Linked DNA regions of Homo sapiens: all the other regions are linked to region 7. The links are contacts of gene promoters, found by promoter capture Hi-C in blood cells and fetal thymus (Javierre and others, 2016). All regions are on one chromosome and are shown on one strand. The core of a region is centred on a gene start or on the middle of the fragment in contact, and the rest is flanking DNA. Distances in the headings are between cores, read along the strand shown.

What was found. Contacts are between HindIII fragments. The CHiCAGO score rates a contact against its expected background, and 5 or more counts as called.
Region 1: a contact is called between a fragment that was not itself captured here and the fragment with the promoter of VANGL2 in region 7, in 2 of 17 cell types (M2 macrophages and M0 macrophages). The highest score is 5.4, in M2 macrophages.
Region 2: a contact is called between a fragment that was not itself captured here and the fragment with the promoter of VANGL2 in region 7, in 1 of 17 cell types (M0 macrophages). The highest score is 5.1, in M0 macrophages.
Region 3: a fragment that was not itself captured here is called in contact with the fragment with the promoter of VANGL2 in region 7 in 2 of 17 cell types (M0 macrophages and M1 macrophages); the score reaches 5.8 in M0 macrophages.
Region 4: a fragment that was not itself captured here is called in contact with the fragment with the promoter of VANGL2 in region 7 in 1 of 17 cell types (activated CD4 T cells); the score reaches 6.1 in activated CD4 T cells.
Region 5: a contact is called between the fragment with the promoter of IGSF8 here and the fragment with the promoter of VANGL2 in region 7, in 6 of 17 cell types (M0 macrophages, M2 macrophages, M1 macrophages and 3 more). The highest score is 10.6, in M0 macrophages.
Region 6: a contact is called between the fragment with the promoter of ATP1A2 here and the fragment with the promoter of VANGL2 in region 7, in 1 of 17 cell types (M2 macrophages). The highest score is 5.2, in M2 macrophages.

What each region holds. Positions count from the first base shown.
Region 1 is chr1:160,056,425-160,060,336 of GRCh38, forward strand. All of the region lies in intron 1 of KCNJ10 (potassium inwardly rectifying channel subfamily J member 10), which reads right to left. Among named protein-coding and RNA genes, the nearest start is that of KCNJ10, 12 kb to the right of the region's middle. The HindIII fragment of the contact is 299 bases long and covers 2,103-2,401 here.
Region 2 is chr1:160,074,669-160,078,439 of GRCh38, forward strand. No RefSeq gene overlaps it. Among named protein-coding and RNA genes, the nearest start is that of KCNJ9, 5.0 kb to the right of the region's middle. The HindIII fragment of the contact is 416 bases long and covers 1,238-1,653 here.
Region 3 is chr1:160,036,363-160,040,331 of GRCh38, forward strand. It overlaps KCNJ10 (potassium inwardly rectifying channel subfamily J member 10), which reads right to left. Exons shown (of 2, transcript NM_002241.5): 2 at 1,105-3,969. Among named protein-coding and RNA genes, the nearest start is that of PIGM, 6.4 kb to the left of the region's middle. The HindIII fragment of the contact is 3,750 bases long and covers 733-3,969 here.
Region 4 is chr1:160,864,858-160,868,814 of GRCh38, forward strand. No RefSeq gene overlaps it. Among named protein-coding and RNA genes, the nearest start is that of CD244, 3.9 kb to the left of the region's middle. The HindIII fragment of the contact is 689 bases long and covers 934-1,622 here.
Region 5 is chr1:160,096,589-160,100,645 of GRCh38, forward strand. It overlaps IGSF8 (immunoglobulin superfamily member 8), which reads right to left and starts at 2,031. Exons shown (of 7, transcript NM_052868.6): 1 at 1,821-2,031. The coding sequence starts at 1,884. RefSeq lists enhancers at 1-163, 164-692, 693-1,219 and a silencer at 1,786-2,615. The HindIII fragment of the contact is 5,064 bases long and covers 1-3,834 here.
Region 6 is chr1:160,114,393-160,118,509 of GRCh38, forward strand. ATP1A2 (ATPase Na+/K+ transporting subunit alpha 2) reads left to right here and starts at 1,367. Exons shown (of 23, transcript NM_000702.4): 1 at 1,367-1,481. The coding sequence starts at 1,470. RefSeq lists enhancers at 1-105, 858-1,641. The HindIII fragment of the contact is 17,914 bases long and covers 1-4,117 here.
Region 7 is chr1:160,398,431-160,402,170 of GRCh38, forward strand. VANGL2 (VANGL planar cell polarity protein 2) reads left to right here and starts at 2,134. Exons shown (of 8, transcript NM_020335.3): 1 at 2,134-2,439. The region is part of intron 3 of LOC105371466 (a long non-coding RNA gene); the gene reads right to left. The HindIII fragment of the contact is 3,661 bases long and covers 233-3,740 here.

The DNA.
Region 1 (3,912 bases), core at 1,002-3,501, 340 kb before region 7:
CTTGTCTGTCTCCCTGTCTTTGCTCGGGCAGCTCGCTCTACCTAGAACATCCTCTGCCTGCTCCAAGACTCCCCTCCAGACTGCTGTCTTCCCTTTCAAATCCCCTTCCTCCTTCAAGGCCCTTCCCCAGTGCTCTCTCCACTGTGGAGCCTTCCCCACCTCCCAGGTAGAAATAGTTACTCTCCCTCTATGTTCCCGGGACATTTGCCACATCATCCTTTGTTCTCCTCTAGAGATTGTGAGCTCTTTGAAGGCACAGACTGTATTTTAGTCACCTTTGTAAGCTGTTACCTTTAAATTTAACCTAATTGGTTAGTAAAGAGGGAGGAATTAGAATCTCTGGGTGATTCTGGGCTAGGAATGTCAACTATACAGCATGTGAGCCATCACTCATCACCCCACCACCCCTTAGCAGATAACACTAATTCATCACAGTGCTTTTTATCTGACTGAGCCTCAGAATCATCCTCAATATGGTGATACAGAGAGTCATTTTCAATCAAATGGAGTTAGCCCAACAAATGAAACCTATTTCTTATCCTGGCATGTCTGAGTCACAAAGGTCCCTATGTATTCTCCTTTCCCGCTATTTGCCATCCTGTCTGTGTCACTTACTAGCTAGGGGAACTTCAGTCAATCTCTTAATCTCTCTAGAGCTCAGCTTCCTCATCTAAGGAGGCAATAAAACCTTCCACTATGTGGTCAGGATTACAAGATTTAAAGTATATGAAATCTGTAAGGCCCTTATGCAAATAAAGATGTTATTATCCTACTTTGCAGATGAATGAAAAATATTACTGAATCAGAGAAACTAAGGTTCAGAGACATAAAGTCACTTGCTGACGTTTATTTAATGGCAAAGCCAGACCCCATGTCTCCAAATCCTGTGGGCTTTTCCCTCACGTTGCCTCTCCACACCCCAGTGGCCTTGATGATGCTCAAGTTACACCATCCCTTCGATCTCCTTTCTCCAGGTGAGTTGTGGGGTAAGATTTACTCTAGCCCCAGAATTGAAGGGGACTTCCAACCCACTATTCTTTATCCCACCTCTCTATAATTCCTCCAAAACCCTCTCAGCCTGCCAAGAGGTGGGCAAGTGTGTGCTGAAGACTGCTGAGTAGAGCCAAGTTCCTTAATTACTATCCCTCAGCCTCTCGCCCTCTTGTCTGCCCCCAGCCTCAGGAGTATCAGGCAGCTGGCAGCCTTCTCAAGGCCTAGGATGGCCAGGGCCCTGGAGATAATGTTCTTGGGCTGAAGGCTAATGAGTTGTCACCTGATCTACCAGAAGAGTTTGAGAAACTAGGGAGGGTATGATGAGACCTATTCCTTGGAGTCCCAGGGCCAAGACAGGGTTCTCCACCTGAGAGAAGGGCGGGGGAGGCTGACCAGATCCCAGCTGAAGGGCCCTTCTCTGTACACTTTCCTGTCTTTGAACTTGAAGTGGTGTTGGCTGGAAATGAGGGGAGGCTTGGACCTAGGGGGTGGAGGGCCCAAGAGGTAGTGGCGGGTAGGGGAGGCAGAAGAGCTACTCCCCATTGTGAGAGCACCCCCAGGGCCAACTCCTGTAGAGGCTGTTTCATCAGCTCTGTGCCTTCCAGGAAGGACCATCCCCATCTTCCCAAACAGAGAACCTTTTCTGGACTGCTTCTTAATCTGTATTTTGTTCATCTTTGTGTCCTTCTCAGTGCCTGGCATTTCTTGACTTTAAAGAGCCTGTAGGATTGATGTTCTACATCACTTTTCCTCCTTCAGGCCCCCTTTTCCATGTGCCACCCACTTCATCCTTCGGAAGTCCTTCCTCTGAGCTTCCCATTGAAGTTTCAACGTTTGGACACTTGGGGGCACTGAGTCAGTTTCCCTAGCTCTTCTCTGCAGGCTGTGCTCAGCCCCACCCTGTCAACACTCTCCCTACTCTCTACAATGAGAGGGGCAGATGGGGAAACTGAGGCCCACTGTGGGAGTGCTTAGTAGGAGTGCCTCAGTGATAAAATCCAGGGTCTTCTGTGGAAGGCACATCTCTCTCTAGTGGTGAGAAAGGACAGAGGCAGAAAACTTCAGGCCTAAGCCAAAACTTGTCCAGAGGCAGACAACTCTGAACTTAAAGCTTCTTCCTGCACTGGCCAGGTCGTCCTAGGGGAGCCCAATGCTTCCTTGTGCTCGTGTGACCAAGGACAAGAGAAATTAGTCTTGGGAGAAAGGATGAATGAAAAGTAGGAAGAAGAGGAGAGGAAGTGGAGGGACCCTATCTCTGAAGTCCCTAGAATTACTGGTGGAACAGAGTCCTTTATGACCTGGTCTCTGCTGACCTCCCTAGCATCAGTGTTCTCTATCTGTACCCACCCACTTCACGCATGCATCATGTCCCCAGCCACACAAAACCTCTCGGTTCTTGAACAGACCAAGCTTTTCTTAGCAAATAATGGGGTCTCTTCCATGGAACACTCTTCCTTTCCCACTTTGCTTAATTTCTACTCCTCCTTCAGGCTTCAGCTTAGATGTCACTTTCTCTGGAAAGCCTTTCTGGATGCCCCCACCCACAACATGGGCTGCTATCCCCCTGTGTTCCCACAGTACCATGAACTTCCTACCTCAGGCTTTACGGTGCGCCAGGCATTGTGCTGGACGCTCCATGCCGTGCTTCATCCTAGCCTCCCTAGGGGGGCAATAGCATTGCCCTCAGATGAACGGGTGGAAACTAGACTTACATGGGTTAACTAACTTGCCCAGGAGGACTGCTCGTAAGGGGTGCACTGCAAGTTGAACCCAGGCCTGCTTAAATCTGCTTAAAGTCTGGGCTTCTCAACTTGCTACTGGACTGTGTCACAGAGTATTCATGCTGGGAAGTCCTCTATGGTCATCACGTTTAATACCCACATTTTACTAAAGAGGAAGCCAAGGCCTAGAAGAGGGGGGTAACTTTCCCAAGATCACACTGCTAGCTGGTAGCTCATGTTATTTTACATCAGAATCAGAGCAACAACCCTGGTCTTCTTCTTCATCTCAACTTATCTCTTCCTACAAGATCCTTTTCCTCACCCTGGGGTCCAAAAGTGCCAGTTTCTGTGGAGCCAACCTTGGAGCATTATCCACAGAAACTCTTCCCCAGCCAACCACAGCCACAGCCACAGCCCATTATCTTCAATCTGGGCCTCCCACCTAGTAGGTCTCAGGGTCTCCCTCACCCCTGCAGAAGCTGGCCCAACAAGAAGAGTTAGAATAAGCAGCAAATAGTGAGGTCCACGAGGAGGAGACATTCAGCAATGCTCTTACTGGGGTCTGTGGAAATGATCAAGGGATTCCTTTGAGGCCGCTGGAAACCCCACAGGGGCTCTGAGAGTCATTGGAACTATCTTCCAGGCCACTCAAGCTTTGTTCAGTAGGTGACTAAAGGGGGACTTTTCCTTCTCATCAAGGCAATGAGTTCTCCACCTCTTTCTGTCCCTCCCCTTATGCCCAGGGAATTCTTCCAGTTAAGTCAAAATTTACCTGTTGCTATCTGAGCAATTTCTTCCTATTTGTACCCTTAATGGAGCTGGAGACACAGAGGTACTCTGTACCTGTCATTCATATTCAGAAAATTGAGCCTGTTTCCCTGACAGGTGTCCTCTCAGCTCCCTTTCCTTCTTGGGGCTCCTGTTCCCTGCATGAAGAGCAGCCTCTGACCCTCACTCAGAGGAGTCTAGGGAGCTCACCATGACTCTGGGAGGCAATCTCTCTGCCCCCTCTCAACTTTTTACTTATTCCTTATCCACATTCCTCCCTTAAGAAGGAGGATGGGGTAGGGATGGCATGAGGACACTTACTAGATACAGAACTAGATTCAGAGGTGAGTGTCTCACTGTCCTCTGTCTCCTATAGTAACTAACTGCCCGAGCACAGCAGGGAAAGCTGAAGTTACATACATTGAGCAGT
Region 2 (3,771 bases), core at 196-2,695, 320 kb before region 7:
CCACTGCCCCTATACACCCAAAGCTACAGCTACTTCTTTTAACACTCAAGGTTCAGCCTTATGTTCTCTTTCTGTGTCTTGCCCCTTGAGCCTTTGTCATTTACATAGCTCCAACGATTGTCCCTGAGTGATGCCCAAATCTCTATCTTCAATCCTACACTCTTTTTGGAGCTCCATATTTCTAGTTGCTTGCAGGGGATTTCCATCTTGACTTGACAGGCCCCAAACTGAACTCAGTACCTTCCTCCCCAAAGGTGGAAGTGCTCGTGACTTCCTTAGTTCTGTGTTACTCCTGGTCAATTAGAATAAAAAACTACAAGTGACCTTTACTCTTCACCGTTGCCTTGGGCCCATTCCTGGACATGTCAAATAAGCCAACAAATGCTGTCAAGTCTCCCTTTCTTTCATCTGTTTGCAATGTGCTTTTTCATTCCTATGACCACTATCAGAATCAGAAAGATCAGGACCTGACCCATCCTTCACCTTTCTCTCCAGTCTCAAAGGAAGAGGCAACCTGTTTTCATCATGTCGGTCCCTGTGCCCTTGTTTTAAAACCCCAAACAGTTGCCTCGTGCTTACAGGTCACAGTGAAGGAGGTCTTCACCACAGAAGACCTAGAAAAAAAAAAAAGAAGATAAAAAACGTGACAGGCCCTCAGACTGAACTCGGCATCTTTCTCTCTGAGGCTGGAAGTGCTCATGACTTCCTTAATTCTATGTTACTTCTGGTCAATCAGACTAAAAAACTACAAGTGATCTACAGAAGTGTCCTCTACTAACAATCAGAGTGAGGATAGAGTCGGGTGGGACTGGGCAGTTAGAAAGACTTTATAAGTCCTTGAACAGCAGGGGTGGGAGCTTGTGGAAAAGTACACAGGTAGCTTCAACAGCACTGTAATGTTCTGAATTTAAAAGAGTGATTTAAATTGAGTTTTTGTTCTTAAATTATGCTTTATAACATATAGACATATGTCCACCATCTATATTCTTTTGTACATATCAAATGTCAGGTTTTCATTTTTAAATTTGTTTGCAAAAGAGAAGTCCTAGGACAGTCTCTAGGAGCCCAGTAGGGAATCAGTAATAAGGGGCATAGGACACTAATATTTGTGAGTGTTTACTACATCAGATAGATCAGAAGATGGGGAAACTGAAGTTCTGAGGAGTTAAGTGGTTTGCCTATGGTAACATAGCTGGAAAGTGTTTTGAGATTTGAATCCACATATATTTGACCCCAAAGCTTGTCTCAGAATAATGCCAGAGGGAATTTGCACGTTTTAAACACAATCTTGCCAACCAGAGGCTATGACCCCTGAGTACATGTTGGTATGAAAAATTCCCCAGAATTACAACATCCAATGTCCACCATGAAACATGACAGAGGAAACTTCTCTTTTTGAGGACCCCTCTCTCTTCTTTCAGTTTCCCAACTTGCGTCTTCCTTATTCTCCTCCATTTCTCCTTTCAGACTCACTGCTTCCAGCTTTGGCCTCATCTCTACTTTTACTTCATTTATAATGGGGCAGAGGCTACCTCAGAGCAGAGGAGGAGGAGAGTTGGGGTGTGTCACCTGTTTTAGAAAGAATCCACAAGTGGGCAGCAGTCTGAGGGGCTTGCGCTGGGCAAAGCAGATGTGGACAGAGGGAATCAGGAAAGCTTTGGGTTGGGAGGCATGATAGAGACTCAGAATAGTTAGTATTTAACAAGTCAGGGGAAGTGGCTAGAAAGAACAGAGACACTGGCATGGCTCACCACAGGATTCAGGATTCCAAGTGGCGTTTTGGTGCTCACATCCCACAGTGCTGAACAAATTCCATTAGTAGTGGAGCATCTCATAGCTGAATGACTCAGGCCGCAGAGGAGAAATCCAAGAGAAGGACTGAGCTACATTCCCCTAGTCACTAACGAATCATTATGTAAGTAGATCACCCCCTTTAAATAAATGCAATATACACAAACCCACATTTATAAGACATAATTTAGGGAATAGTTAGTTACCTACTAAAGAATTCTTTCCTTTAAAAAAGAAAAACATGGCCAGGCACGGTGGCTCATGCCTGTAATCCCAGCACTTTGGGAAGCCAAGGTGGGTGGATCACCTAAGGTCAGGAGTTCAAGACCAGCCTGGCCAACATGGTGAAACCCCATCTCTACTGAAAATACAAAAAAAAAAAAAAAATTAGCCAGGCATAGTGGTGTGTGCCTGTAATCTCAGCTACTCAGGAGGGCGAGGCAAGAGAATCACTTGAATCCGGGCGGTGGGGGTTGCAGTGAGCGGAGATCGCGCCACTGCACTCCAGCCTGGGCAACAGAGCGGAACTCTGTCTCAAAAAGGAATAAAAAAAAAGGAAAAAAGAAAAAAACAAATTTCTCTAACTAGGGACTTCTAGTACCTTTCCAGTTGGGTCCAATTGATAGAAATTCCATTAACATCCAATGCACTGTGATAGGAGGGAGGCAACTGGGAATAAAGAAACACGAGGAATCTCGAGTCGGGTGGCCTGAGTCTTAGTCCTGACTATGTTCTTGGGACCTATTCCTACCTGTAAAGTAAGGGCTAATCCTGTACCACCTCTAACCGTCATATAACTTTTAAATCTTAGCCTATCTCTACCCAGTCCTATAAAGCAAGATAGAACTCTGTGTGAAGGCTTCTGATCCTCCTGCTCTGCTGAAAGTAGCCAGAAAGGCAGCAAGCTCCTCAGCCTCAGGAACCCAGCCTGAGGCAAGGGGCTGGCTGAAATTGCCTCCGTCTGGCCTGGAGCTGTGCTCTGCTTCTCCCCATTTCACTCTAATCTTCAGCTTCAGTCATTTGCCACATCTACTCCTTCAACCATATCTTTCCTCTGCTCTGAGTTTTCTAGAGCCCCATCCCCCTTGAATTTATACAAATTTTTGCAATCAACCAGATTGGCCTCCCTGCTCCACTAAACTCATATCCTCAACTGTCTGCTGTCTTCCCCATCATGCTTCCTCTTCCACTTGCCAGATTTTGCACAAGATGTCTCATGATCTTGTCCAGGGAAGCCTCCCCAGTTTGGCTGATCTCAGGGCTGCCACAAAGGCACCTGCTGATGGGGCAAGTTGAGGACTGAACTGCATTCAGCTTGCCAATTCCTGCACCCAGCTCAGAGCTGTGTCTGCTGGAGGAAGGGAACCTTTTATTTTCTCCCAAAAGTATCACCTGTTCCCTGTTCTCCAAGTGACAGGCCACAGTAGGCTCTTTTTAAGCTCTTTTCCTATTTTGCACCACGGTTCCTTTTTTTTTTTTTTTTTTTTTTTTTTTTTTGAGACAAGGTCTCACTCTGTTGTCCAGGCTGGAGTGCAGTGGCGCAATCACGGCTCACTGCAGCCTTGAGCTCCCAGGCTCAGGTGATCCTCCCACCTCAACCTCCAAGGTGGCTGGGACCACATGCACATACCACTACACCCATCTAATTTTGTATTTTTTGTAGAGACAGGGTTTCGCCATGTTGCCCAGGCTGGTCTCCATCTCCTGGGTTCAAGCGATCCGTGTACCTCAGCCTCCCAAAGTGCTGGGATTATAGGTTCGAGCCACCGTGCCAAGCCAAAAGCTAGAATCTTGTCTATGCTTTTGTGTCCTGGTGCCTGGGAAAACTTTTTTTCTCCTGCCTCAGTTCAGCTCAGTGATAAATAAGGAACTGAGGTTAGATAACAGGTAAAGTCTAGGACCTGCAGGATGAGTGAATCAGGTGAGGGAGTGGTAGTCTTCTTCCTTGTCAGCCAGGCTAGGTTCAGGGGCACCTGGACT
Region 3 (3,969 bases), core at 1,358-3,857, 360 kb before region 7:
CAAAAAAAAAAAAAACAAGAAAATTGGAAGTTGGCAAGCAGTGGGGAGAGTTCCACAGAAGGAATAGCAGGTGGAAAGTGCCATGATTGTACATCCCTTGATTCATGCATCATGTCTTATATTTCTTTGTCAGCTGAATGATACCTTCCACATAATAGGGACTCAGCGTTTGCTGATTTTTCTTGAACCTTAATGTATTCTAACCAAACATGTTAGATTGATACCATCCCTTCCCTAGTTCCTGTCCCTGTGAAATGTTTCCCACAGAGATCTCACTCTTTTTGGAACATTCTGCTAATGTTATATCTGGCATTAGTACATGGTACCTGCTATTGCTTTTCATTATATTTGTTATATGCTACTTGTTTTATTTCTGTTTTCTAACAAGTTTATAGGTTTCTTCAACCTTTTAGGCCTTTTAGGAACAATACATGTCCTATATCTTATATGTCTCATATGTCTTAGGATTCATTCCTAGTATTTCCTAAATGTTGTACTTAAGTATTTATTGATCATGGTAAGAGACCCAATTTTCTCCCTCCTCCTCTCTCTCTCCTTCCACTTCTGGGGAACAAGAGTCAGCGATCATAGGGTCTTTTGCCTCTCATCAGAGAAAATTCAGGCCTGGATATTAACAACCAGACCTTTCTCAGGCTACTGACAGACAAGGGTAGAAGAGAAATCCATTTATTTGAGATTTGAGGGAAGAAATGCCTGGTGATTAAAGGAATAAGCTTACAAAGAACCTTGAGGATATATAAGGAAAACTGGCAACAAGACTACATGGTAGCATGGAAGGGAAATTGGGCTTGTGATCACTGGCCAAAAGGGACAATGCCCAGGATCCAAAGCAACTTGACTTTTATGGATTAAGCTGAGCCAATTTTCATACTTCTGGGTCTTAAAGTTTTTTTCAGTATTGTCCCATGAAAACCGAATGTGAAAGGAACTCGCTAAAGCATGAGAGAAAAACAGAAGGGGCTTGGCCATGCAGTCAGAAGTTCTTCCAGCACAGCCGAATTCAACCCTCCACACTCATGGGTAGGTAGGTCTATGAGTTCAGACCTTGACAGTCTTGGTTTAGCTTTTTAAAAGAAGCTAGAGTGACAACCAAAGAGTCATCCATTTTATTTAGTAGCTTATTTTTAACAGACAAAAACAAAACAAATCTTACACACCTTTTTTTTCCTAGATAAATTTGACCTGGTTTAGTCTTTAGTGCAATGAATGGAAAAAACATCCCTAAATACTTCTGCATCAGTAGAGTTGGCCATTACTGAGCCTGGAGACCCATGCTAACTTTCCAGCAAAGGTAGTGTGTTACTGTACAAGTGAACTAGGTTAGCTAGCAAGAATAAAGGACCAGGGCAGCAGCCATGGAGAGGGCACAGTGTCCTGGACTTGTAGCAATAGTATAACTGGCTTTCTTTCTCTGCTCAGACCTTATAGGGAAACTACTGGATGATTTTATTAGGCTGACAGGGGTTGGGGGAATAATGGGGTGAAGCACATTGCAGAGATTTCGGAAGCCTCTCATGGAACTTCACCATCCCCTAGAGCAGCTGGTAACCCCACTCCTCATTTTCATTCAGAAGCATCAAAACCAAAGCATCACCCTCCATGCCCAAATGCCAGGATTGGAACTCTTCTGGAATCCATGGCTTTCTCTTTGGGCTGCTTGCAGCCACACAAAAGGCTGGGCCTTGACCTTGGGAGATCTTCAGCCTAACAGCTATTAGTCCTGGCATTTGGATTCCAGGGTTGAGGCTTCCCATTAGTGCCTCCCATACACCAAAGTGTTCAGCTCCTGAGTTTGATTTCAGGGGCTAGAGCAATAGCAGCTCCCACCCCTGTGGAAGACGGAAATACAGTGTACTTCATGAAAGGGAAACAAAATGGTGCTTTATTTTATTTTATTTATTTTAAAAAGGCGCTACAGTGGCAGGACGCTGCTGGGGATGGGGACACACAGTGTAAGTGGTAGATTTTCCAAGACTTCCCCTCCCTATTGTCCTCCGAGTTCCTCTCTTCCTGGTCCTATCAGTAGCATAGGATTCAACAAAAGCCTTCATGAATGCCTCTTTATTTCTGAAAAGGAACTTCTACCCCTCCCTTTCCCATTTCCAGACTTGAAATCCTTCATCAGCTATCTCACTTCCATGTTGAAACCAGGACCACTGATTGTAAGTCTGAAAATCTGGGTGTCCTACCCCATAACCAGGCCAAGATATCTGCCCCCAATGCTAAAGTCTCTGAATATTTCCTTTCTGTACATTCAATATATTTGGGCATATATACATCTATATACATCTTTCTATATATATATTATCTCTGTTTCTTTCTTCTTAGATAAACCTTTCATATATGTCATATCCTAATTTCCCAAGCCTCCCCACTTCTTGTTTGCGAGCCTAAGCAAGACTCAAGAGTTTCATTGATTTCACTAGGTCCCTCAGCATCATTTCTTTCTCATCTTCTCACCCCAGGTATCTTCCCCCATCAGTTGTTTCGCCCGTCTTCTGAAATCTCCCCTTTTTACACCTGTGCCTACCGAAATCTCCCCTTTTTACAACTGTGCCTACTACTCTGCTGATATTCCAAGTCCACAGTTGGTATGGGGGCCCATTTCTCACCAGACCTGGCTGCTTCTAAAGCTCGGCCTATTGCCTAAAAGAGGATTTCAGGTCAGAGGAGACAGACTATAGTCTAAAGAACCATTTAGAGTTAAGGTAGGGGGTAGTTGTTCCCTGTAGGGGGCTTGTGGGAGAAGATGCCAGATCGCATTAATAGGACAGTGTGATTTAAAGTGCAACTTAAAGCAAAGCCTGGGTAATAATGGAGGAGATTCCAAAAGGGTAAGTCAGAAAATGTTTTCTTCTCACTGTTTCATCCAAGAGTCTAGAGGCTTGAGTCTGGGGGCTTAGAATAGACAGCAGGGGAATGGGAAGAAAGCATAGCATGGCCAAATAAACCAGATGGAGGTTAACTTGGCAATGGATAGGAAGGTATAGACACACACACACACACACACACACACACACACACACACACACACACACACAGCAGTACATCTTGTCCCTACACACTGAAAGAAATAAGGTAAGTCTAATGTTGAATAAAGTTGAGAACGCAGAAGCTGGCTCTTGGCCTTCTGTTCTCTGTTTCAGATTTTTCAAGTTTTTGTGGTTCTTGTTTTTATGCCAACTAGAAGGTAATGGTGGGGTTTACTGTAGATGGACACCGAAGGGTCTTTGTTTTCAAGATATAGTTAGTTGAGTTCGAGGAGAGATCAATATAACAAGACCTTGTGCAATTATAGTTGGTGGTGATCATGGGTCTAGCCTCAAAATTTTGTGTTTCTCTGCAAGGCTCTGTACATAGATGCATGTATATATTCTGTAGCTTGTAACAATTGGCTGAGACCACCTTAAACTGCAACTTGACTTATAGTGGGACTATGCAGTACCACTATGTGAGGCTTCCTTGGTACCAAAGTGAGACCAGAAAGCACTCTAGGGATTTGGGGCTTTGGATAAAGCTCTGGTGCCTATATGCCCTTCCCTGACCCTTACCACAGACCCCACCAGGGAACAAGGAATAGGCTGAGTTTGATCTCTTAAAGTCTACTTTTTAACTTGTCTGAAAATGGCCTCATGGCAGAGGAGAGTAGAGATGACACTGATTTCTTCATTTTATACCAAGTCTCAGGAATGGCTGAGGGAAGCCATGGTTATTTGATCAGAAGGTATAATTTCATTTCCTTCCAGCATTGCCTAATGAAATAGCTGGCACTTTTCAGAAGGGCACTGGGAGGTGTAACTGAGAATAGTGGCTGCCAGCCACAGAGTTCTGCTCCTGCCCAAACCTTAACAAAGCATCACCAATTCTCAGAGGCTCTGTACAGCAGTTTGGAAATCTGAGAATTTACCCATCCCTCATGGTGGGATTGTGTTAACTTTCTGGGGAATC
Region 4 (3,957 bases), core at 28-2,527, 470 kb after region 7:
GTAATCCCAGCTACTCGGGAGGCTGAGGCAGGAGACTCCTTTGAACCTGGGAGGCAGAGGTTGCAGTGAGCTGAGATTGTGCCTCTGCACTCCAGCCTGGGAGACAGAGCAAGACTCTGTCACAAAAAAAAAAAAAAAAAAAAAGGTGCTGGGCGCAGTGACTCACACCTGTAATCCCAGCACTTTGGGAGGCCTAGGTGGGTGGATTACCTGAGGTTAGGAGTTTGAGACCAACCTGGCTAACATGGTGAAACCCCGTTTTTACTAAAAATGCAAAAAATAAGCCAGGTGTGGTGTTGCATGCCTGTAATCCCAGCTACTTAGGAGGCTGAGGCAGGAGAATCATTTGAACCCAGGAAAAGGAGGTTGCAGTGAGCCGAAATCACGCCATTGCATTCCAGCTTGGGCAACAAGAGCAAAAACAAACAAACAAACAACAATAATAAAAAAAAAAAACAACCTGCCATTTGTTCTACACACTGACCTCCCCAGCCCTGAGCTCTTCAACACAAAGTCTATGCTCTCCTTAGCTTAGTGTTTCCAAGCCTCACCCAGCGCCTGGTTCTTCAGAGTTGATTCGTAGATTGTCAAGTGCTGAAGGAATGAATGAATTCTCTAAGGAAGACATTTCTATTTCCCCTGAGATAGACTGGTTAGCTGAGTCACCATGGACCCTGCCCTCGTGGAGTTTTTATCTTGCCCTTCCTAATTTTTGTGCAGAGAGTCCTTCTGTGCAACTCAGCCACTTTAGCACGAGGACCCAAGACCTACAAAATCAATATAAACCAGAGACTCCCTTAGCTACATTTCCCATACATATTCACGAGATCTTTATAAGTCTGGGACAGGGGACTCAGACAGGGGCATTTAAAGGTTAGCGGCCATCTGGGAATCAAAGGTTCATAAACCCCTGCCCAAACCATGCTTTCATCAAGCTTCGGTGAGTCAAGGTCATTCCAGTAAATCCCACTTCTGATGCCAACTACAAATTTCATGAGTCCCCAGGACCACCCATTTCTGAGACAAATTGCAAGTTTGAGGTCCCCAAGACCATCTTCAGGTTTGATAATTAACTAGAATGACTCACAAAACTCACTGAAAGCTGTTTTACAAATGTTTTACTCAAGCCTTCACAAAGAACCCAACTGATCTTATAGGTATAGTCAACCAATCTTGCAAGAATTCAACAAATAACTTCTGTAATATTAGAGTTTATTAAAGCAAAAAATACAGATGAAAATGAGCCAAGGGAAGAGGTACCTAAGGCAAGGTCCAGGAGAGTCCCAAACAAAGGAGTCAGTCACAGCACTTCCAGTTCTCCTCTCCCAGTGGAGCTGTGCAGACAGGGCCTACTTCTCCCAGAAACTATGTGTGACAATACACACAGAGAATATTGTTAAGCAGGGAAGCTCTTCCAAGTCTTGGTGTCCAGAATTTTTATTGGGACTTGCTCACATAGACATGGCTGACCACCCATGTGGCTGACCATAGTCTCTGGCCCCTCCAGAAATTGAGTTGATGCTATGTGGTCAGAGCTCCCACCATAAATCACATTATAAGCATTGACAATGCTAACAAGGTCCCCAGTAATGAAGATACTCTTATCAAGCAGGACATTTCAAAGCTTAGAGATTACCTCCCAGGAGCCAAGGGCAAAGGTTGGGCCTCTCTTTGAACAAGGTTAATCCTTTACTGCACCACTGGAAAGAAGTTGTTAAAGTTGTCAAAGATGAACCATTCACAAAGAGCCCAACTGATCTTATAGGTATAGTCAACCAATCTTGCAAGAATTCAATAAATAACTTCTGTAACACCAGACACTAAATGAGAACTCATTGCCTTTATTTCTAACCATCTGAATATTGTCTGTGTTCCTGTTTGAATGAAACCATAACGACACTTTTAATAAGCACAATCTCTTTTTCTGTCTCTTTTTCTCAGAAGGGCTAGAAAATCGCTTTCCCTTCTATGTACATTTATCTTCTGTGGGCTTTCACTTGTTGGAAGAGAAGTAGCCAGTTATTGTTTATTTATTGGCTGTGATAACTTTCAGGTTCAGGTTAAAGGTAAGAGATGCAACAGTCTCATAAAGAAGATGGAAGACAGAGCCTCTCAAAACAATTTATGGGACATCAGATAACGCAGAGAACCCACATCCACAGGAGCAAAGGCTAAAGAGTGCAATCCATGTCTTAACTCATCTCAGAATTCAACATAACAAGAAATTTGCCATTCCCAGATTCAGTGTGAGAAACAGCTCTGACGATGCAGAGAACCGCAGGCTATCTCTCTGACACTAGCAATGTGGTGTGGGAAATGGAATCAATCTCTGCTTCCCTGTGTTGGAACAAAATGTTTCTACGTGAAAAAGGTACAAAAAAGTTTTCCCAAATTGCAAGGGAAATGCACCATAGAATAGCCTCCTATTTAGCCTCCTATTTAAAGATAATTAAATATAAATTTGTCTTATACATTTGTATCTTTTATTACATTGTATAAATCAGAATCTGATTTAGTATGAAATTATATTCTGAGATTTTTATGTTTGACATATTAGTAGACCAAGTGTTTTGCAATTAAAAAAAAAAAAACATAATGACTTCTAAGTGCCCTACCATCTAGTTTGTGAATTTTATCTAGTTTGTGAATTACAAATACAGAAAATCAAAATTGGGGTTATAATGATAAAGTCATTTGTGCAAGCCAATGTTCTCTTTTAATTTTTCTGTGCTACGTTGACACCTAGAAAGAAATGAATGTGATCAAAGTTTAGTGGTGTAATCAGATAAACTTATGATATGGTTTGGCTGTGTCCCCACCAAAATCTCAACTTGAATTGTATCTCCCAGAATTCCCACGTGCTGTGGGAGGGACCCAGGGGGAGGTAACTGAATCATAGGGGAGGGTCTTTCCTGTGCTAGTCTCGTGATAGTGAATAAGACTCACGAGATCTGACAGGTTTATCAGGGTTTCCACTTTGCTCCTTCCTCATTTTCTCTTGCTGCCACCATGTAAGAAGTACCTTTCACCTCCCACCATGATTGTGAGGCCTCCCCGGCCATGTGGAACTGTAAGTCCAATTAAACTTCTTTTTCTTCCCAGTCTTGGGTCTGTCTTTATCAGCAGAGTGAAAACAGACCAATACAACTTACAACCAAATTGTTATTTTAGTGGTTTGAATATCCATAATTGACCATGAAATTGTTTTGACATGACAAAACTTTACTGTGGAGTATTTTATTCTACATCACATTGCTATTTTATTCTATTTCACATTGCTGTTTATCCCTCATGTAGAATCCTCATCAGTGCTGAGAGTTTCCCTGATTCTATGTGTCACTGAACCTACCACACAGGTTGCATGGGCCCACACATTCACATATGAGATTATAGAAGATGAAGAACCTAAAACTGGCTTCCTGTTCTCTAAGAGTTCCTCTTCTTCTTCCCCTATCCGTGTGCTAACTGACCTCCCTACATGATTTTCATGTGAAGCTCTCTGGGTTTTTCTGGCATACCCTCTCCTGCTAAGAAGTTGCCTCTGGCCAGGTGCGATGACTCACACCTGTAATCTTAACATTTTGGGCGGCTGAGTTCAAGAATTTAATGGGCAAAAATAAAGAAGTCTGGTAATACCAAGTATTTGAGGGCATATGGATCAATTGGATCAATTATATACAGCTGATGGGAATGTAAATTGGTACAATTCTGTGGAAATAAATTGGTGTTATCTTGTAAAGTAAAATATTTATAAACTCTAATGATCCAGCAATATGACATCTAGTTATATACCTACATATAAGAGACAGTTTAGCACATATATACCTGGAGACACATATGACAATGTGCATAACAGCATTGTTTTTTATTGGAAAAAAAACTGGAGACAAAACAAATGGCAATGGGAGAGTGGAAAAACAAGATGTGATCTATTCATACAATGTAAATTCAATAGCA
Region 5 (4,057 bases), core at 781-3,280, 300 kb before region 7:
CTCCTAGCCCCTTCCTTCATCCTCTGGCTGGGTCACAGGGAGAACTCATGGTCTGTTGTTAAGGGCACAGCTGCCAGTCAGGAAGTGGGATTCCAGCACCATCCCCATGCCCAGCTGTGTGGCCTGGGATCCAGTCTCTTTCTGTCCTAGGCCTCAGTTTCCACACTGGAGGAGAACTAAGAGCTCCAGCTCTGACCATGTGTGAGTGCGTATGTGACTCAGGAGAGCCCTGCCCCAGGCCAGGCAAGTTTCATAATCAGAGTGACGGTGGAGACAGCCAAGCTGACACCTTCCCTGACTGCCTCAGGGCAGACTGCTCAGAAGGCCCCCTCCCATTTTCCTGGCTCCACAACTGCTGATGCTTGGAGATGCCCATGGGAAAGTCACCTCCACAGCCTTAGGAAATCAGTTGCCACACAGCTCTCTCTCCCCTCCTCTGTATCAGTCGCAGCAAGGAAAGGGACAGCAAAGAGGCCTGCTTTGGAATCAGATCTGTGTTCAAATCCTAGCCCCAACACTCACTAAATGTGCTCTCTGGGGCAAGTTACTTCATTTTCCTCATTTGTGAAATGAATGTAAGTGCCCACAGGCAGTGGGTGCTCAGACCTCTGCGTGCTCCTTTTTCAAACACAGGCCAGCACTTCCCCACCTCCCTGGGCTCCTCCCTGCTCCATGCTGCCCACTGGGGAAAACACACCAAGTGCTAGGCAACCCAGGCCCCACAGCGCCTTCCTCTCTGTACATCCTCCTGCCACCTGCCCAGGGACCAGGGAGAGGACTCATCCTAACCCTGCAGGGCCCAGGGACCTGCAGCAGGGGAAGGCTTTGCTTGGTGCCACTGTGGAGCTCTGGTCTAGAAACAGGCAGCTGGGGCTACCTTCAGCCTCTGCCTTGACGACAGCAGCTCTGAAGTCACCATCCCCACCCCCACGCTTCACTCTCATTTCAAGGGCTTCAGCCTCATCAACATCTGTACTGGCAGTTTCACTGTCTCCATGCCATACTCTTCCCCAGACCACCTCCTACAGGGAGCCCTCCAGTTCAGGCCAAAAACAATTCCACTGTCATTATCCCCATGCATCCATGCAAGATTGGCCCAGAACACCCCACCATGAACACCCACCACAGCAGGCACAAGGTGCTTGGAGATCCCAGGATCAGTCTCCATGGAACCTGGTTTCTCCTGAGGCAAGGAAGCTGGAACTAAGCGGTGTGAAAACTGATGGGTGGCTGCAGAGCCAAGTGCCATTTGGGAGACAGGAAGAAGGGCAAAGAGGGACCCAACCCAGGGTGGAGATGGGGGTGAGAGAGGGAACTGCCCCCAGTTGATGAAGTGCGTGGAGCGCAACTGGGAGAGACTTACTTCAAAGATCGTGGGCAGAACTGGCCTCTGGGCCTCCAGCCAACTCTGGGGCAATTATGAAGCTGGGCAGGCACTGCCCTCGTAGGGCGGGCACCCAAGGCCAGGCCTGGAGCTGAGTGTGGGGCAGAAAGGAGTCGCAGCATTTGGTGCAGCGACCCCAGTACGTGGGTATGCTAGCTGAGATGTGTGGCCTGCCCCGGGAGGCCGAGCAGTGCCTGGGGCAGCACCTTAGTGGGTCCTCTCTACGCCCCAGTCCCTGGCTTAGAGCTGGGGAGCCTGCACTCTTCCCAAGACTGGCTCGGCGGACAGCCACAAAGCGCAGCTGGACGCCGACCCCGGGGAGGCTGGAGGTACCCCTGACGGAGGAGGATGTGAGGAGCCCCGAAATGCTAGGGGGGTGCTGGATGGCAGGCACCTGCCCGGCAGGGCCGGGAACCGGAACGGGGGCCTGGCTTACCTAGCATTAGCAGCAGCAGCAGCGGCAGCGAAGGCGGCAGCAGCGTGGGCCTGAGGGCGCCCATCCTGCGCGGCCAGCTCTGGGGAGGCTCCGGGGGATGGCGCGGGTTCTGGGGGGCCGGAAGGGTGGGGGGCGCATGCCCAGGTTGAGGGCAGGAAGCGGGGCAGCGAGGCGTGGGTGCGCCGAGCGAGCTGAACTGGAGCTGCCGAATCCCCTCCCTCCGCCCCTCCCGCTGCTTTCCCTCCAGCCCTCGGCAGTTCTGAAACCATTCTCGCCCCGGCCCGCCCCGGCACCGCCCCTTCCACCGCCCCGTCTAGGCCCGCCCCGCCCCGGACCCAGCCTTGGCCCTGCCTGCCCCACCCCCGCCAGACTCCGGCCTTTGCTCCGCACCTGGCCCCGGCCCCGCCCCGCCCCTCGAAACTCACCTTTGAGTCGCATCGAGTCCCAGCCCCGCCCCGGCCCCGCCCCTCCCCGCCCCGCCCCGCCAAGACTCCAGCCCTGGATCCGCCCCGGGCCTCGGCCCAGCCCCAGTTCCGGCCCCTCCCCCGCCCCGCCCCACCAGGACTACAGTCGGACTCCAATCCTGGCTCCTCCCCGGGCCCCGGCCCCGCCCCAGTCCCAAGCCGCACCCCTTCCCCGTCCCCGCAGGGCTAACGTCAGCCTCCAATCCTGGCTCCGCCCTGGACCCCGGCCTCGCCCCGCCCCTGGCCCTGGCTCCGCCCGAGGCCCCCGCAGGAGTGAGCTAACTGCACCTCTGCGCATCGAAATTCCCACCCACCCTCGCACAGAGCGCATTCCACCCCGCACCTGCCAGCCTTTCCTGGAGAGTTGGGTGCAGGGTCCCTGGGATTGGCGAGGTGACTGTGACCACGCATTTAGAATTCAGTTATTTGCTCTGAGCCATAGTCCTCGCTGCAAACCCTGCTGAAGTAGGGGTTGGCGGAAGCCAGGAGTTCCTGAATGCGAAGGGTTTGAGCTGAAGGGCGCTTCCAGGATCCAGAAGGTCACTGGAGACCTGTTTTTCACCCCCTCAGAGGGCAAAACCAAAAGAAAAATGGATTAGGAGAGGGGGCCGTCCATGTGACGTCATTTCTGGGTTGGGTGATCCTAGCCCAGTTGTTTAACCTCCTTCAACTTCAGTTTTCTCCTCTGCAAATTGAATTGAGGTTGATCACATCACCCAAAGGGTTATTGTGATGATAGGTAATGTACATAAAGTGTTTGGCACAGGAAACTAACACAAAATGGGAGATAAGGATTATTTTGTTTTAGGTTTTGAATTATTATTTGAACTGCTTCCTAAGAGGCTTAGTTTAGACCTGGCATTTAGGTGAAGGAGTCTCTATGTTCAGTGACAGTGGGAAGAGATGAACATTGCTCTGTTCTAGGAAGAGTGGGGCTTGCCCTGGAGGTGGGAGAATGGAGGAGGCACCCTTCCCAGGTGCTCTGTCTCTTCCTGAACTGTAAAGATGGGAAGTGGGCAGGGGCAGGAAGGATGAGACCAGAATGGGGAGAAGAGATGGCCAGGTTTGCAAAGCCAAGGCTGTCAGAGTGGCTGTCAGTGGGAGGTGACCCCAGAGCCCATTTACCACCCTCTACCCTCCAACATCCTCCCTCTCCCCTCTCATCCCCCTTCCCTCCCACTCACTCACCCCCCTTTACAGAAGAGGAAACTGAGGCCCAGAGAGGGTAAGTGGCACAGGCCAGACCAGACCTTCCTTGACATGGTATTCCTCAAGCGTGGCACAGTGCCTGACTCTGAGAAGATGCTCACGGGGTTGCCAGTAGAAGCCACATTGAGGAACCCTGGAGAAACCAGAGAAACTGAGGCCTTGAAGGGAGATCAGAGGTCCAGCCCTCACTTCCCAGGACTGCCAGCACTGGCCCATGAACAGGGCAATAAGGTGCCTGTTTATTCCCACTTTGAAATATCCAGAAGGTTGCTCCAGAACCTCATCATCTAAATCCATCCACAGGCATATCGAGCTATGTGAAAACTGAAACTCATAGGGGAAGCTTTTGGAAGAATACGTCTCTCCCTTTATAATGGATTTAATTATCGAGTGGATTTAATGCCTTCATGATGCTTGAGGGATGAAAGATGTTACCAATTGTAATAATGATAGATGTCATTTATGAAATGCTTACACAAGAAGGCCCTTTTGGATATTAGTCCTAGTCCTTATAGCATATTTTGCAAGGTGGTGTCATTTAACAGAAGAGAAACTTGAGGTTAG
Region 6 (4,117 bases), core at 117-2,616, 280 kb before region 7:
TCCCCTCACTCCATCTCTGTGCCCAGAGAAACAGGGGTACTCCAGGGGAATCCTGTCCTCTGACTGTTCCCAGTAGAAGGCGGGAGCAGAATTTTTTCTTTTCTCTCTGCCCCTTCTGGGTTCCCCTTCCTCTCTGTGCCCCTCATCCTTTGGATTACTCATCAAATGAGCAGCAACAACACCCCTAGACCAGCTGGTCCTGTCCTGGGTCATCTCGTTGTCCCCAGTTTCTAGCTGGTATAAGGTTAAAGATACCCTTTCCAGCCCCAGGCAAAGCCTTAGGCATTTCTGGGATTGCTCCTGACTCTGATGGGCATCCTCACTCCTCAGACATTTCCAATCTCCCCCACTTCACTGCAGAGAGGCCTGTTCTCCAGCCTCAGTCCTGCATGCTGCAGCTTTGCTTCCCCTTCCCCACTGGAAGAAGGAAACAGTCGCTCTCCTTTCCCGTTCACATGTCTGATATTTGCTATGATATTGACCTTCACACACATCTTAGAGGTTCTGTATTTTCCTCTCTTTTGACTTCTCCCTATCACTACTCTACTCAGGCATAGATTCAGTCTAGAGCTCTTCAACAGCAATGAAACGGTAAACGAGGGGTAAACAAAACCCAGAGATGTCATCAGGTGCCTGCTAGGAGTCCCACCCGTTCCCCTCTAGCCCTGGCCTGCCCCTCCCTACCAGAGTCTTGATTCTCCTTCAAAACTTTGGAGAGGTTACATCTGGCAGGGTTTGGGGACACCCTCTTGCCTCCATCTCCAAACTTCCCGCTGCCTCCCGAGCCACCTTTGACTCCTCCTGGGCCCCCCTTCCAGGTGCCTCAAGTGCAGAGGTCAGCCTTCGGTTCAAATTCTATTTCTGGGCTTCAGTGTCCCTGCAACCTCTATAATAGAAGGAACAGAGTGGTCTATGTTTCTTTCTTTCTCTGGGAGATTGGATGTAGACTCGGGAGACCTGAGTTCTGGCTCTGTCTTATCAATTCAAATTGTTTAATCTCTCTGAGCCTCAGTTTACCCACTTGGAAAAGAAGAGTTAGGCCACATGGTCTCTGTCATCCTGGGATTCTGAGTCAACTGCTCCCCTTCAGCCAGATCCAAGGGGGCATATCCCCCCAACCTGGGACCCAGGCCCCCTTCCCTTGCAGCCTCTCTCAGTTGTGAGTGCCACAGGCCAGAGGGGGTTGAGAGGAGCCAAGGGGGGGCATGCCGTGGGACAAACGGGCTGTCTAGGGCCAGTGGCTAAAGGGGCGGGAGGGGAGGAGTCCTCAGGGATCCTGTTTCAACAAACGTTTCTTTCGGAGGAGGGGAAGGCGGGGGAGAGGGGGAGAAGGACCTATTTAAAGCTACCCTGTTGCTTTGGCTTTCTCTGTCTGCCAGGGTCTCCGACTGTCCCAGACGGGCTGGTGTGGGCTTGGGATCCTCCTGGTGACCTCTCCCGCTAAGGTCCCTCAGCCACTCTGCCCCAAGATGGGCCGTGGGGTGAGTATCCCTAAAGAGCAGGGGTCGCAGTCTAGAGGGTGAGGGAGGCTGCTGAGGAAGGATGAAGTGGGAATGGGATGTGGAAGGAGCGGGAGAGAGGAGCTGAGTGGGATACTTGGAACTTGAAACTAACAGTCTCCAAACTACCAATGTGTGTACAGATCCCACGGCGGTCACATACCCTAGTGCTCTCCTCTCCTCTGCACGCCCCAGCCCCCTGCCCACAGTTAGACCCACAGCCCACCACACATGCCCCCTCCATCTCTCCCTCCACCCCACTCCCACATCTCTAGTCCTTCCCTGCAGCAGTCCCTCCTCTCACTGCATCTCCCGGCCTCCCAGCTGAAAGGATGTTTGGCACTGTGAGTCCTCCTGTCTTTGCCACCTCCTGAAAATATCCATTCCTCTGGGAGTCCTAGCCTGAGAGGCTGGGGGTCCATTTTGAGGTTAGAGAGGGGCAGTAGAGCATCCGGCTCCCAGAGTCACCAAGTAGTTCCGGACACCAGCTCCAGGGGCCCTGAGTGCCAAGGACAGCTGGGCGGGGTGTGGGGAGGAAGAATGATGACCCAGCCCCCACCCCAGCACCCCTCCGGATGTCCCGAGCAGCATTGTCCGTGGGTTCCAAGCCATGGGCTTTGAGGACTTTCCCAGAGGCTGGTGACAGGTGACCCCCCCCCCAGTCCACCCGTCCATGGCATTCTGCAGCAATGGCTACACCAAGAGGAAGATTAACAACAATGGGGCGGGCAGGGAGAGGGCTTTGAATTCTTGGAAATGAAATTCCCATATGGAGAAGAGTGGCCCAATCCTTTTACATGCTGTGCCTGGCTGCTTTCCTTTTGTGGAATACTGGCAAAAGAGGACACAGAGGGAAAGGGCATGCTGCGGAACAGGAGGGTATGAGGAAGACTGTGCCTAGGGGGAGCCGTGGGTGTTTCTGGGCCCAGGAGGAGTCAGGCAAGGACATGTTATTGCACCTAGTTGAGCAGCTGGGAAATCCTGAGCCTGGACACCAGGGTTCCTGAGCTAGGGTTGGAGCCATAAATAGAATTGGAGTGCATGCATGTATCTGTGTGTCTGTGTCTGTGTGTGTGTGAGTGTGTGTCCTTGACCACGTGTTCTCCATAGGCGGGGAGTCCTGCAGTTACTCATGGATGAGTACCTGTGTTTGTGTCTCAGCAGGCAAATTTGTAAATGTACAAGCCTTCAAGCCTGCACAAGCATAAATGTCACTGTGTGGGGGTGCTTGAGAGTCTGTGAGCCTGCCCTTAGGAGCTGTGAGGTATGGGCTTCACGGAGGAAGAGGTCATAGCTGCAGGAAGATATACTGTCTTGGGACCTTCAGCTGCATCTTGACATCTCTGGCTCCCCATGGAAAGGGCATCCCTAGCTGAGATGCAGGACCTCTGAGAAGAGGCAGGGGTTAAAGGATCAGATAAGCCCTCCATTTCCCCCATCCAAGTGAAGAGAGAAGGAGGGGAGGTAGCCCCCTACCCTGCTCCATCTTAGAGCAAGGTAGACCCAGCTCAGGAGGTCTTGCTTGGGAAGTGATGAGACCTTGACTTTTCCAGTCTGTCTTTTTCCCCTAGCACCCCCAAACTCCCCTTAATCACCATCCTAAGTTGCTGTGGGTGATGCAATAGCAAGATGAGGAGCAGATCTGGGCTGTTTAAACTAAGAGGCTGGGTGAGGTGGGGGTATTTAGGGCCTGGAGCTTAGAGTTCAACCTACCAACGACCCCTGAAGAGGGAAGGCATCTGACACCCACAACCTGTTCTAGGGATGATTTTTCCTCCAATCCCTTCTCCCCTGCATCTCCACTGCAGAGGCAGGCTTCACTGTCCCCCCATTACCCAGTGGCTGTGAAGGGCAGCGTGGGAGTTGGGGGAAGGGACGACACTGGTGGGAGGGAGCCCAGCCTGCTCCAGCTACCACGGAGAGGCTGAGATGGGGGGAGCGTTGGCGGATTCCCAGCTGCCCCCACTCTGTCCCAGCCTCTGGCTTTCTCAAAAAGGACTCTCTGTTCTCCTTCAGCATTCAAGACCCAGAGAGGGGGACTTGTGGTTGGGGGAGGGAGGAGTGGAGGGAGGTTGGGGGGGTCCTTGCTTCCTCTCTTTCTTTCTTGCCTGGGCAGCCGCTGGCCCCAAATCTCTGCAGGCTCCTGGCTGCAGAGCCTGAGATCTTTGCCAGGACAGGAGGAGGGGGAAGGGGCAGTGTGTCTCAAGCTCTAAGCCTGCTGGAGAGCAGGGCGGGAGCTTGGGAAAAGGAGGCACTGCGTGGAGCTGCTTAGCTCAGCCACAATCCAGCATGCCAAAGTGCATGGACCAGCAAGTTTTTAAAAAGCATGCATTTTATTCCAATTTTTATGAAATTTATTTCACATCTGAATATACAGAAATTCCTCTGCACCCTGCTCTTCTGCCCACAGACCCAGCCCTGCTCCTCTGTGTATGCCTGGGCCCCCTTCTGTCCCTGAAGTTCCTGAGGGTCACACTGAAGCTCAGCCAGCCTGATCTCTTGCCTCTGTTCCCTTGATTGCATTTCTTCCTTTTCTCAGCTCTGTCCCACCACAGACAGTTAGTGAATGTAAAGCATTTCAATCCACTCAATTAAATGAATCCTCTTAGGTCACCTGA
Region 7 (3,740 bases), core at 884-3,383:
ATTCTATCCTGAGGTGAAGGTAGAAGGTAATACAGAGAATTGCTGAATGGGACAGACCACACCAATAAAATTTTTTGTTGGACTCTGTAATCCAGTGTTTTCATTGCAGAGATGTAATTGAAAGCCCCCAACCTCACCGTCAGAGAAAGGAGGGACTAAGCTTATTCTAGCCTGATGCCTGATACCTGTTAATTGGGAAGCCTTGTCTGTTAACATCCTGACTTAGGTTTCAAGCTTTCAGTGGGGCCAGACTATGGAATTATCTGTAATTCTGGCATCAGAAGCCCTTTTTCCAGTTCTTTGGGCCATTTTGGGGTCTGTGAAACAGGCTAGCAGCATGTGAAGATAATTCACACTAAATCTGCCTGAGAGTCAAGACAGTGCCACGGCAGCCCCGACTCTGTGTCAAATTACACACTAGCTGCCTAGCACTGGGGTGTGCTTTGGGGCAGGGCTGGGGACACCCATGTCCTCCCTACTTCCCTTAACCCTTCCCCAGCTCTCCTGCCACTCCCTCATACACCTGGTCGTGGTCACTGCCAGGAGCCCCAGTGCGGCCCAGTGCCTGCACATGATAGGCACAAGGTGAATGAGTGCCTGGACGCATGCAGGGACTTGGGTACCTGAAATGATGATTCTGCATATTTCATGTAGTCTTGATGCTGAGTCACCTGCTTACCCATACTACTGGAGGAGGGGATGAGGAAAGACAGAGTTTGGGCAAAGGAGAAAGGAAGTGTGTTTTACTGTTCTGCATCTTTGAACAATGCAGCATAGTTGGTTCTGTCCTCATCTTTGGACAGGTTAGAATGAACCATCAAAAGGGGTGAGATTAGGTCTCAGGAAATAGTTTTCATCAGGGAGGAGCAAAAATTCCCAAACAAGTGAGGAACAGAGGCTGGGAGTCTCTTTCTCTGGGATTCCTTAATCACAGGGTTGTTCAAGCAGGTGCCAGGATTGGAAACTGAAGGAGGCTGAGATATTGAAAAGGCCTTGGCCTGCTTAGGGAGAAGTATGTGAAGATGCTTTTGAAATGATACTACTCTAAGTGGCGGGTTGCACGGCAATAACATTAATGATAATTGAATACTGCTTTCACTTACTCCAAGGGGAACATGGACTTCCCACAGCCCAGGCTTTTACGGTGTGGGTTCACTCTTGTAGGGTCACATGTAAAAGAACCCTAACTGGTTTCTTGGCATACTGGGAGGCACAAATGCCCCAAACGTGTAGGATATTTTGTGAGATCCTACAATCCCTGTGTGGCACCTTCAACTCTAAAGTATCTGAAACTCCTGGGATGGACAATCTGCCTGCTTGGGGTTGGGGACCCAACTGGCCAAGGCATTTTTCCTCTTGGAGGTTTCCTGGGAGAAGGCCCCCTCTCCTCTGCCATTCAAACTCCCAGGCGCCCGCGTCTTTTCCTCCTCCCCTTCTTCCCTAAGGCAGGGTTCCCTTTGTAATTAATCCCAACACTCAAACCAGAGGGGAGGAAAAATGTGTTAATGAGGGAGCGTCCCAGACTGACTGGGGCGGTCGCTGCTCGCAGCTAGAACTCCAAGTAATTAAATTATTTTTGGAAGGAGGGGATATGGTGGTGATGGTGTCAGGGAAATCCCCGTATGCATGGGAAGAGGCGTGCGCCTCTCGCCACTAATTAAAATCAGGGATGACCCTCCCTTCTCGGACCCCTAGGGGGAAAAAAAAAATCAATCTTCCCACGTCCCAGATTCCATTGGATTTTGTGTAGTCGGGTCCGTGGCCCTAAAGAGAATATGGCCAGCCCCAGGGATCTGGGGGCTCCTTCTCCGACAGGAGGGGTCCAGGAAGACAGCCCCAGGAGGGACTGCGGGCTGGGCCAAGTCCAAGAATCGAGGCATTCCCCTGCCCACCGTTCGGGACCCGAGTGTCAGCCCCACCGCGGATTCCCAGGATCGGGGAGGGCCGCTGGGCATCTGAAGGCGCAGGGCTGGGGGAGCGGCGACTCCGGGAAGAGCGGGGCCGCAGACAATGGACGCGGCGGTAGGAGGGGCGGCGGCTGTGGGAACAGCCGGGAGGCGGCACCCGGGAGCTCGCGCTCCCCCGCCCCCTGCACCCCCCACCCTCATCCCCTCCCCCTCCGCCCCCTCCCCCCTGCGCCGCCGGCTCCCGATCTGATTCCTGATCCTTGATTCCTTGATCCTTGGTCCCGCCATGGGAGCCTGAGCGCCCCCTATTCCCCCCTGGCCCCCAGCCCCCGGGGCCTTGAGGGGGAAGAGGCAGCGGTCTGGGACGGAGCAGGGGGTGACCAGACTCAAGAACCCCCCCCTCAACATCCCCCATCGCGCGCGCTGCCTGTCCAGGAGCGCCGAGTTCGGAGCGACCCGGAGCGCTGCGGATACAAAGGCGACGGGCCGAGCGGGGCGCCCGCGGAGCCCACCCGGCAGTTCGCAGCGGCGGGTGAGTGCCGGGCCGCGGGGGCGCGGGCAAAGTTTGAAAAAAAAAGAAGAAAGAAAGAGAGAGAAAAAAAGAAATGGAAAAGGAGGAAAATCATGCAAGGGGCCAGGGGGTGCCCGACCCCAGAGCGAGCGGGGTGGCTTATGGGGGAAGGGGGGCTGGACTCCGGGCAACCCCCTTCCGGTCCGCTTCCCCACTGCACAGCGGAGTACCCCCCCCAACTTTGGGGAGGGGAAGGGGCTCGTGGGGAGGGGGCGGAGCCCAGGCCTGGAGAGCCGGGGACTTTCCTGGGCCCGGGCGGGGGCCTTAATGATCCCAGGGGAGCCGGTTGAAGCCGGAGACGGGGAGCTTGTGTTGGAGGTGGGGGGAGAGGCGTGGAAGGATCGGAGTCTGGAGGTATTGGAAGCCAAGGGTGTTTTGGGGTGCATACACCCCTCAGGAGCGTGGGGAGGGACGGAGGCAGGTATGCGTTAAGGGTGTAGAGTGGAGTCAGGGGGGCGGGTTGGGCAGAGTAGATAGGGTGTATGTACAGACCGAGGATGGGGCTGGAGGCGGTAGACTGTGTATAGGGGCCGAGGGGACAGGCGCTGGCATCCCTCTCCCCACTCATATTTACCCATCTGGGGGACTGTGGGCTCTGCGTTAGTGAGTTTTGAAGGGTTGGTGGAGGATCCGTGTGCATGATTCTTTGTTTTGGTGTGTGTGCACGCCTTGACGTGCTGCATGTTCCTGCAGGTGGGCCCCTGGTTTGGATGTGTAGGTGTTTTTCTGTGCTTGAGTGTGTGTGCACCCAGGGAGCGGCTGACCATGCATCTGCTGTGTGTTTGGATATGTGTTTATATGTATACTTAGGGGAGGGCGTGTATGTCTATGTGTGTGTACTGGGAGAGGGGTTCACGGGAAAGAGGTGTGTAGGTACTGAGGAAGGTGGGTGTGTAAGAGCAGAATGGAGTGTATGTGGATAGGTGTGTGTGCACCTGTGTACTGGGAAGGGGTGTGAATCTGTGTTCTCTTGTGTGTAACCTGTGTTGATGGGTATCAATGTGTGTGCCTGCCTTAGCTGGTATGTATGTTTCTGAGTGTGTGTCGGGGGTACCTCTAGACTCTGCAGGCAGATTTTCCTGGCAAAAATCCCGAAAAGAAGGCTGTCTGCAGGATTTTGAGACTTCGTGGATGGCCTCGCCTGGGTTTAGGGGTAGTACCTTAAGTATCTGAGACCTATGGGTGGGAGGGAATGAGTTGTCTTATGAAGTGCCTGTTTTTGGGGGATGGGTTTTTCTGGAAGAGGGCGTGTGTTGTGGGGA